Regions from separate parts of the Homo sapiens genome. Here region 2 is linked to region 1. Evidence: promoter capture Hi-C in human tissues and cell types (Jung and others, 2019). All regions are on one chromosome and are shown on one strand. The core of a region is centred on a gene start or on the middle of the fragment in contact, and the rest is flanking DNA. Distances in the headings are between cores, read along the strand shown.

Evidence for each region. Contacts are between HindIII fragments. The study calls those that stand out against the background at their distance.
Region 2: a contact is called between a fragment that was not itself captured here and the fragment with the promoter of FASTKD5 in region 1, in 1 of the 25 tissues and cell types used here (stomach).

The regions. Positions count from the first base shown.
Region 1 is chr20:3,156,289-3,161,388 of GRCh38, forward strand. It overlaps FASTKD5 (FAST kinase domains 5), which reads right to left and starts at 3,577. Exons shown (of 2, transcript NM_021826.5): 1 at 3,478-3,577. UBOX5 (U-box domain containing 5) reads right to left here and starts at 3,577. Exons shown (of 5, transcript NM_014948.4): 1 at 3,478-3,577. The HindIII fragment of the contact is 11,638 bases long and covers 1-5,100 here.
Region 2 is chr20:3,307,420-3,312,719 of GRCh38, forward strand. All of the region lies in intron 20 of DNAAF9 (dynein axonemal assembly factor 9), which reads right to left. Among named protein-coding and RNA genes, the nearest start is that of SLC4A11, 71 kb to the left of the region's middle. The HindIII fragment of the contact is 8,715 bases long and covers 1-5,300 here.

The sequences.
Region 1 (5,100 bases), core at 2,327-4,826:
CCTCAGCCTCCCAAGTAGCTGAGACTAAAGGCTCACGCCAACATGCCCACCTAATTTTTTTGTATTTTTTGGTAGAGACGGGGTTTTGCCATGTTGGTCAGGCTGGTCTCAAACTCCTGGCCTCAAGTGATCCACCTGCCTTGGCCTCCCAAAGTACTGAGTACAGGCAGGAGCCACCACGCCCGGCCTGACTCTTTCAATAAAGGTCAAAGATACCTGATATGATTTCACAAAACTCCTTTCCTAGTTTAAGTGCCCCAAGTATACCTTTCTCCCCTTTAGGGGTCCTAACGAAACAGAGTAGAGCCTCAGACACTCCTGGACCCTGTCAGTTCCAAAAGGCAATGCCCAAACCTCCCTGAATGATGTGATTTCACAGGACTGAAGAATCTTACCTTTCTCCCTTCCACATACCGGTCTGAGCAGAGCCGAATAGCTTCATTTTAAACTAGAGTCTAGAAGTTAGAGGAGGGGGGCCAGGCAGAGGAAGGAGCGATGCTAACTGTAGACTGAGTATAAGACACCTTAAACACATACAATTTACCACTTACCAGATCTGATCCCTCAATTCTAACACTTTTCCTTTCTATGTCCCAATAAAATTGCCACAAATAAATGAACACTCCAACCCTATTCTTGTCTCAGCAAATAATTTGTTGAGCAACCTTAAGAATTAAAAAGGCAAAAAAACTGGCTAGACAGGTGGCTCATGACCATAATCCCAGCACTTTGGAAGGCCGAGCAGGCAGATCACGTGAGGCCAGGAGTTCAAGACCAGTCTGGGCTACATGGCGAGACCCTGTCTCTACCAAAAAAAAAGGGCAAAAAAACCGAACTTTCTCTAGGTGCTGAGGTATTCTGCTGAGAATCTACAAAACTTCAAAGCCCCTAGTGAGGGCTTAGAGACTGGCAGTAAGGACCTTAGCTGTTAATGTGGATGTTAACTGGGCTAGACTCTTCTGTGTTTCTGTTTCCACACGGGAGCAGGGCCTCAGAGAGGAGTCTACCAGTACTGCGAAGGTGAAGCACTAGTGCAAAGGTGTTTAGGTCAAGTTCAGTGTCACTCGCAGGTCTAAGCCAAACTAAAATTATTCAGTCTAGCAATCCATCCCTTCCTTTTTGTTCTAGACTCCATGCTGATAGGAGAAAAACAGCACATCACAAACATTTGTGAAACTTTTTCAGCTACACAGCCCTTCCGCTTCTCTTTTAAGACTCTGCTATTCCTCTATCAGAATGGCAAGAAGGATGTGGGTAGATATAGTATGACTAAGCCCTGTAGATGATTCTGTTAGAGCTACTGCTTTTAAAGGGTTTCATAAAACCCTGTCTTTAGAAAACCTCTCCATATAACAACAGGCAGTAGGCACTCATGTCCTCTCAGCCCATCTAAATGGGGCTTCTAGAGGAATTACAAAATCCAGGCAGGTAAAGAGAAGTAGCTGCATGCACACAGTCGTCATAAGAGAAAATTCCCAAATAAATGGTCCAAGTACCTATAACTGTTAGCTCAATAAACACTTGGTTTTATCTGCTTTTACAATTTGCAAGGCTGTATAGAGGCTGTATAGTACATACTTCAGACAAATAAAGAAGGAGTTTCAGAATTCTTTTGTTTTTTTTTTCAGACAGGGTCTCGCTCTGTTGTTCAGTCTGGAGGGCAGTGGTGCAATCTCCGCTCACTGCATCCTCGACCACTGCCCCCCACCTCTCACCCCGGCAACCTCCCGGGCGAGGATCGCTCAAGGATCTCAAACGATCCTCCCACCTCAGCCTCCTAAGTAGCTTGGACTACAAGCCCACCACCACGCCTGGCTACATTTTGTTTTTTTGTGTGTTTTTTTTGTTTTTTGTTTTTTTCGTAGAGACAGAGTTTCCCTATGTTGCCCCCAGGTTGGTCTCGAACTCCTGGGCTCAAGTAATCCTTCCACTTCGGCCTCCCAAAGTGCTGGGATTACAGGCATGAGCCACCGCACCTGACCTTAGAATTATTTTATATCAAAGTTGACTTATTCACATGATGAATGGCAAGGCCTTATTAGGGACTAAAAAAATAAACCAATGGATGGGGAAGAAAATCATACTGACTAATAAACATTAGACCTGCATAACTGCCAAAGGCCTCACTTTTTAAGTTATGTTATGCAGCACAGAGTCTTCAGATTTTATTTACTTATTTATTTATTTATTTATTCATTTATTTGAGACGGACTCTCGCTCTCTCGCCCAGGCTGGAGTGCAGTGGCGCGATCTCGGCTCACTGCACACTCCGCCTCCCGGGGTTCACGCCACGCTCCTGCCTCAGCCTCCAGAGTAGCTGGGACTACAGGCGCCCGCCACCACGCCCAGCTATTTTTTTGTATTTTTAGTAGAGACGGGGTTTCACCATATTAGCCAAGATGGTCTCGATCTCCTGACCTCGTGATCCGCCCGCCTTGACCTCCCAAAGTGCTGGGATTACAGGCGTGAGCCACTGTGTCCGGCCCAGATTTTATTTTAGTCTACCAGGTAGTAGCAAACTATCCAAGGACTTGCCCAGGACCATTCAGGTCAGTGAGCTACAGAATCTAGTTCTGGAAAGGCAGCCATTCTTACTATTCACAAAGTGTAGAAAACGTGAATTCAGATTCCAGCAGCAACAAATGACTGGAGCACAAAACGCCAGCCACAGTTGGTGCTAACGCAGCTGGCTATCAGCTCCACAGGATGAAGCACTGTCCAAGGGTCTGATCAGTGAAGCATCACCCAAGACTGATGAACACAGCTGATATGAGGGGACCCAAAGTTCCCTGAGTCAAGACAGAAGAGCTGTGTCACGGTTTGCACAGAAAGAGAAAGAGCAACTATTCTTACCCACGGAAAGAAAAAGGGAGAAGGCCATCAATACTACCCTTAGGCTTGTGCAACGAGAAACTGCTAAAAATGGGGGGAAGGTATATATCCTATCATACTGATGTTTACCGAAGACTCCGCATCCCAAATGCTAAGCAACATACTGTAGGGCCTTGCTACTCAGTGTGTGGTCTGCGTGCCAGAGGCTTCAGCCTCGTCTGGAATCTAGTTAGGAACACAGTTATCTCAGAACCCACCCCAGTCCTACAGAATCAGAATCTCTAAGCGATTCGCAGGCACATCAAAGTGTGATGAGAGGCGCGGCAGAATATCTGACTACATTCTCTTAACAGCACCGTGAGACAAGTACTGTTACGATCTCCATTTCACAGAGGAAAAAAAATCAAGGGTCAGATAAGCCCCCTGCCAAAGATCACAAACTCAGGAGCGGCGAGAGTCACTGAAGTTCTCACCACAGCCAGGCCTGCGAGAGGCACTGGCAACCCAGGCCAAGAGCTGAACAAGGCCTCGATGCGCTCCAGCTCTGGGCCGGCCGGGAGGACAGGAGGCACAGGCCAAGGCCCAGGACGGTCGTGAACGCGGAAAGAGGCCGCCGCGACCTCCTCCCCGGCCGCCGCCACTCACCTGATCCTCCCGAAGGTGGGCGCCGCAACACCAAACCGGGGACGCCGCGGGCGGCGGCGACACAGATACTGGCTCCTCCGGCGACTCCGAGCCTCACAGCCCCACTTCCGGCCAACTGCCCGCTACTTCCGCCTGCTGCGCGAGTGACGGATGCGGCCGAGGCTCAAAAGACTCTGTCAGCGTTTCCCAAGGACATTTTCCACTGGAGGACGTTGTTGAGGAGGCAGGGGGAGTCTAGGACCTGCAGAGGGAAAACACCTTCCTGGATGGATCGCTCTGGAAGTCATTAAGCAGCTTAGTCCCGGCGCGGTGGCTCACGCCTGTAATCCCAGTACTTTGGGAGGCCAAGGCGGGCGGATCACCTGAGTTCAGGAGTTCGAGACCAGCCTGGCTAACGTGGTGAAACCCCCGTCTCTACTAAAAATACAAAAATTAGCCGGGCGTGGTGGCGCACGCCTATAATCCAGCTATTCAGGAAGCGGAAGCAGGAGAGTCGCTTGAACCCGGGAGGCGGAGGTTGCAGTGAGCCGATATCTCGCCACTGTACTCCAGTCTGGGCACCCCTGTACTCCAGCTCTGGGACACAGAGCGAGACTCCATCTAAAAAAAAAAAAAAAAAAAAAAAAGTAAGTAGCTTAGACACATGTTCAAATCTGAGGACCACCACTCAGGGTTTTATGGCCTTGGAGAAGTCACATAAATTCATTCTTGTTATATTATTATTATTATTTTCATAGAGACGGGGATGGCAGTGTCTTCCTATGTTGCCCAGGCTAGTCTCGAACTCCTGGGCTCATGCAATACTGCCGCCTCAGCCTCCGAAAGTACTGGGATTACAGGTATGAGCCATCGCACCCGGCCCACATAAATTCTCTAAGCCTGTACAGTGAGAAAAACAATACATTTTTTTTTTTTTTGAGACAAAGTCTTGCCCCATTGCCCAGGCTGGGGTGCAATGGTGCAATCATGGCTCACTGCAGCCTCAACCTCCTGGGTTCAAGTGATCCTCCTGCCTCAGCCTCCTGAGTAGCTAAGACCACAGGCATGCACCACCACACCTGTCTAATTTTAACAATGCATTGGTCGGGTGTGGTGGCTCACACCTGTAATCCCCGGTGTTGGAGACCGGCCTGGCCAACATGGTGAAACCTCGTCTCTACTAAAAATACAAAAAAAAATTAGCGGGGCATGGTGGCGTGCACCTGTAACCCCAGCTACTTGGGAGGCTAAGGCAGGAGAATCACTTGAACGCAGGAGGTAGAGGTTGCAGTGAGCCGAGATTGCACCACTGCACTCCAGCCGGGGCAACAGTGAGACTCCATCTTTTTTTTTTTTTAATGCATTTATAATAGAGATGTATCTGTAAAGTGCTCTCAGGAAAAGAGCTAGTGACATGATGGATAGATGAGCCTGCTGAGAGAAATGGATGTGGAGCTGGGGCTTAGCGAGGCCAGAGCTATGGAGCATGAGCCAGGGTGATTCTCCACCACCCTAAGAAGGAGGGCTGGGTCCTACTGGGTACATATATTGACACAGCTGTCAGTATAGGTACCTAGACAAGAAAGAGACTCTACTAAACCTCTACCTATCAGAAAGTCCTGGCCCCAGGCTGCCATTCCTGAG
Region 2 (5,300 bases), core at 163-2,662, 150 kb after region 1:
TGCCTGTGCTCTGGTCTCAGATCCTCATCTGCTTGAAGCAATAACCCTTCTGGTATCTGCTCTGGACTCTTGACTGTCAGACAGTGGTCTGAGGGCCATACCTTTGCAGGGGTTCACAGGGGCCAGGGCAGCCAACTCCTGAGGAGATCTCCCTGACTCTTTGTGCCATCCTTGGTGTCCTTAGTGGATGAACTCTGTCCTTCCTTCTCCATTCTGTAAGTCTGAAAACCCAGGATAAGAGGAAGTTTCCCATTATTGTCCCAAAACCAGGAGGACTGCAGTTTGGTTGTCTTTGATTGAGCTCTGTATCCCTGGAAGTCCAACAAAAGAGGGATGGGCCCTCAGGGTAAACCAAAATACCAAGCAAATGCCAAAGAAGAATTTCGCTTTCCTCTTTCAGAAAACTGGCTGTACAAATAAAAATCTTCCAACAGCCCAGTCTATGTGAGGAGGGAACATTTATCACTGCTGGGGAAATTTATGATGCAATGGCTAGATGATTTTCATCCTGTGTCTATAAATGTGTGTGAAATGTACACACAAGGTTTAAAAAAAAAAAAAAAAAAAAACTAAAGCAACAACTACAAAACCCAGATGTCTATGAACTCACCACTGGGCCTAAGAAATTGAGCATTACTAGCACCGTTGAAACCCCCTGGATGTCCTTCCTCAATGAGAGCCCTTCTCTTCCACCCAGGGGGAACAGCATCCTGAATTCTGGATGGTTTTACCACACTTGAATGTATTTGTAAACTGTGTATTACTTAGTTTTGTCTGTGTTTTTATATAAATGAAATCCTAATCATGTATTCTTCTGTGACTTGCTTACTTCTCCTGACATTCTGTTCCTGAATGTGACCTATGTTACAAGTAATATGCAGCTATACAGTTCCTTCATGCTCAGTGCTGTACAAAACTTTACTTTTTTTTTTTTTTTTTTTGAGATGGAGTCTCACTCTGTTGCCTTGGCTGGAGTGCAGTGGTGCCATCTCTGCTCACTGCAATCTCCGCCTCCCAGGTTCAAGTGATTCTTGTGCCTCAGCCTCCCAAGTAGCTGGGATTACAGGCATGCGCCACCACGGTCCAGCTAATTTTTGTATTTTTAGTAGAGATGGGGTTTCACCACGCTGGCCAGGCTAGTCTCGAACTCCTGACCTCAGGTGACCTGCCCGCCTCGGCCTTCCAAAGTGCTGGGATTACAGGTGTGAGCCACCGTGCCAGACCAAAACCTTCATTTTTAAAGTGTCCCTCCAGCCAGGTGCGGTGGCTCCCTCCAGCCAGGTACAGTGGCTCACGCCTGTAATCCCAGCACTTTGGGAGACTGAGGTGGGAGCTTCACGTGAGGCCTGGAGTTTGAGACCAGCCTAGCCAACATGGTGAAACTCCATCTCTACTAAAAAAAAAAAAAAATTAGCCAGGTGTGGTGCCACATGCCCACATGACTCCTCCTCCATGCATACATGGTAGGGGCTAAGCTCTCTGGTAGCTCTTATAAGGGCACCACATCCCAACAGACCTTGTCCCACATTCATGACCTCATCTAACCCCTATTTCCTTCCAAAAGCCCCATCTCCAGATAACATCACTTTTGGGGTTAAGGCTTCAACACTGGAATTTTGGAGAGGACACAAACATTCAGTCTCTAATGTGATAAGGCAAGTTCCCACCTTGTTTTTCTTCTTCAGGAGTATCTTGGCTGTTCTTAGCACTTTGCTCAAAGTTATTGACATTTTTATGTTGGCTTTTCAGGATTTTCAAAAAACTTGTTGGTTTTTTTTTTCCTGAAATTATGTTAAATTTAAAGATCACTTTGGAGAGAATTGTCATTTTTACCATGTCAAGTAAGTAAACCTGAGTTTTCCAGTCCATGAATGGGATGTGTGTTTATGTCATTTTTAATGCCTTTTAGTATAGTGTTATAATTTTCTCAGCCTCCAGACTGTGAGAAATAAATTCCTACTGTTAATCCACTCACTCTGTGGTATTTTGTTATGGCATCCCAAGCAGACTAAGTCACCATATAGAAATATGTTATCTATCTAAAATAAGACAATGTGTTATTTTCTTTCCCAATGGAACAGAACAGAGAGCCTATTAATAGATGCACACATAAAGAGACTTGATTTATAACAAAGCTGGCACTGCCGATCAGTGGGAAAACAATGATTTTTCAATAACTTTGCTGAGACAGGTGGCTACCTACATTTAAAAAATGAACTTAGACTTCTATCTCATATCACTTTCACAGAGCAATCCAGGTGGATTCTTTGAAAAATTATATTTTTATAATTCAACAGAAAAGTCTCAATAGATCTAAAATATATGAATCACATAGGAAATGATTAATTATCCTGATTACATTAAAACTAAGAACTTTTATTCATGAAAAAGCATCAGAAATAAAATAAAAAGACAAGCCACCAGGTGAAAGAAAATATTTGCAATATACTGAATTGACAAAGAATTAGTATCCAAAATCTATAAAGAATTCCTGGCTGGGCGCAGTGGCTCACGTGTAATCCCAGAACTTTGGGAGGCTGTGGCAGGCAGATCACCTGAAGTCGGGAGATTGAGACCAGCCTGACCGACATAGAGAAACCCTACCTCTACTAAAAACACAAAATTAGCCGGGCATGGTGGTGCATGTCTGTAATCCCAGCTACTCGGGAGGCTGAGGCAGGGGAATCGCTTAAACCTGGGAGGCAGAGGTTGCAGTGAGCCAAGATCGTGCCATTGCACTCTAGCCCAGGCAACAAGAGTGAAACTCCATCAAGAAAGAAAAGAAAGATGAACAAACGAACTAATGATCGAGAGAAAGAGAGAGAAACAGAGAGAGAGAGAGAGAAAGAAAGAGAAAGAAAGGAAAGAAAGAAAAGAAAAAAGAAAAGGAAAGAAAGAAAGGAAAGAGAAAGAAAAAGAAAGAAAGAAAGAAAGAAAGAAAGAAAGAAAGAAAGAAAGAAAGAAAGAAAGAATTCCTAAAATAGGCCAGGCGCAGTGGGTCACGCCTGTAATCCCAGCACTTTGAGAGGCCGAGGTGGGCAGATGACCTGAGGTCAGGAGTTCAAGACCAGCTTGGCCAACATGGCGAAACCCCGTCTCTATTAAAAATACAAAAATTAGCTGGGCCTGATGGTGCACGCCTGTAGTCCCAGCTACTCGGGAGGCTGAGGCATGAGAATTGCTTGAACCTGGGAGGTAGAGGCTGCAGTGAGCTGAGATTGCGCCACTGCACTCCAGCCTGGACAACAGAGTGAGACTTAGTCTCAAGAAAAAAAAAAAAATTCCTAAAATAAACAAGAAAAAGGCAATCTAAAAGAAACATGAGCAAAAAACAAGAACAAGCATTTAACAGAAGGGAAGTATAATAGCTTGGCCAATAAATAAAGACGGTTCACTAATAATAAGAGAAATGTAAATTAAAATCCTAATAATAACAGCACTGCACACTCACCACAGTGGCAAAACTGGCAAAACAGCAAGTGTTGGCCAGAATATGGAAAAACTCAAATACCTGTATGCTGCTGCTGGAAGTATAATTTGGGACAATCAATTTGTAAAACAGTCTGGCCTCATCAAAAAAAGCCATATGTGGGCTCATACTAAAATTCCAAATTTTTACTCTTCATTCCAACCCTACAGAAACATTTGCCCATGTGGACCAAGAGACATGCACAAGAATGCTCATAACAGTACAGTCTGCAATACCAAAAAAAGCCTATATTTACTTATTTATTTTTTAGAGTTAGGGTCTTGCTCTGTCAACCAGGCTGGAGTACAGTGGTGAGATCATAGCTTACTGCAGCCTTGAACTCCTGGGCTCAAGCCACCCTCCAGTCTCAGCCTTCCAAGTAGATGGGACTACAGGAATATGCCACCATGCCTGGCTAATTTTTTTTTTTTGGGTAGAGATGGGGTCTCACTGGTCTTGAACTGTGGGCTCAAGCAATCCTCCTGCCTCAGCCTCCCAAAGTGCTGGGATTACAGATGCTGGCTAATTTAAAAAATTCTTTTGTAGAAACAAGAGTCTCACTCTGTTGCCCAGGCTGGTCTTGAACTCCTAGCTTCAAGTGATCCTCCCACTTCAGCCTCCTGAGAAGCTGGGATTACAGGCACAAGCCACTGCACCTAGCACAAAAACTATAACTCACATGTCCACAAAGAGTCAAAATGATACTGCATGTTCATACAAAGGAATACTATAGGGCCATGAAAATGAGTAAGCTATATGGCTTACATACAACAAACTGGATGAATCCTAGGAATACTGAGCAAAAAAAGCAGGTCTACATTATGATTCTATTTGTATTAAGTTCAAAATAAGATATTGTCTAGGTATATAGGCATGTGTGGTAAAACTCTAAAGCAGGTTCCTGAGGATTAGGTACTGGGCAGCCTGCCTGGCCACAGACAGCAGGGCGGGGAAGAGAAGGGCACATGAAGGACACGAATGAATGGGAAGTTGAAAAGCAAGACATCTTGTGATAGCAGACACCACTAACTGGTGAAGAGAAACAGTTCTAGAGCTGAAAAAAACTTCAAGGTAAAGGAAGCACTATTCTCTTTTTTCTTTTTTTTCTTTTTTTTTTTGAGACAGAGATCATTCTTGTTGCCCAGGCTGGAGTGCAATGGCACAATCTTGGCCCACCACAACCTCTGCCTCCCAGGTTCAAGCGATTCTCCTGCCTCAGCCTCCCGAGTAGCTGGGATTACAGGCATGCGTCACCACGCCTGGCTAATTTTGTAGTGTTAGTAGAGACGGGGTTTCTCCATGTTGGTCAGGCTGGTCTCGAACTCCCGACTTCAGGTGATTCGCCCGCCTTGGCCTCCCAAAGTTCTGGGATTACAGGCATGAGCCACCACACCCTGCCAGGAAGTACTATTCTTTTCATCTGTAAGTAATTGCTGGGTGAAAAATCAGAAGACCTGTACTATCCTCCAGACCTGGACTACCCTCTAGATGCTGCCATTAACTTGTACTACATCTCAGTCAGGGTGAGGGGGCTTTAAAAAAAAAAAAGTATGGAAAAAATAACAACTTGCACAACATCAGGCGAGTTTTCACCTTCTATGGGACTCAGGATATGAAGATCAATAAAGATAATGCATCCTGAGGAGCTGAAGATAAGTACCTTCAGGGGATGGGAACAGATAAATTTCAAACTCATCACAGTCCCAAGTAAAGGCAGATTTATAAAGACAAAGACACTAAAGACACTTGAACTTCAGGACCCCTTACCTGCCCAAGTCCCCTTCTAAGGCTCTAAGAAGAGCCCTAATCATTTTGTAGTATTTTCCTCAAG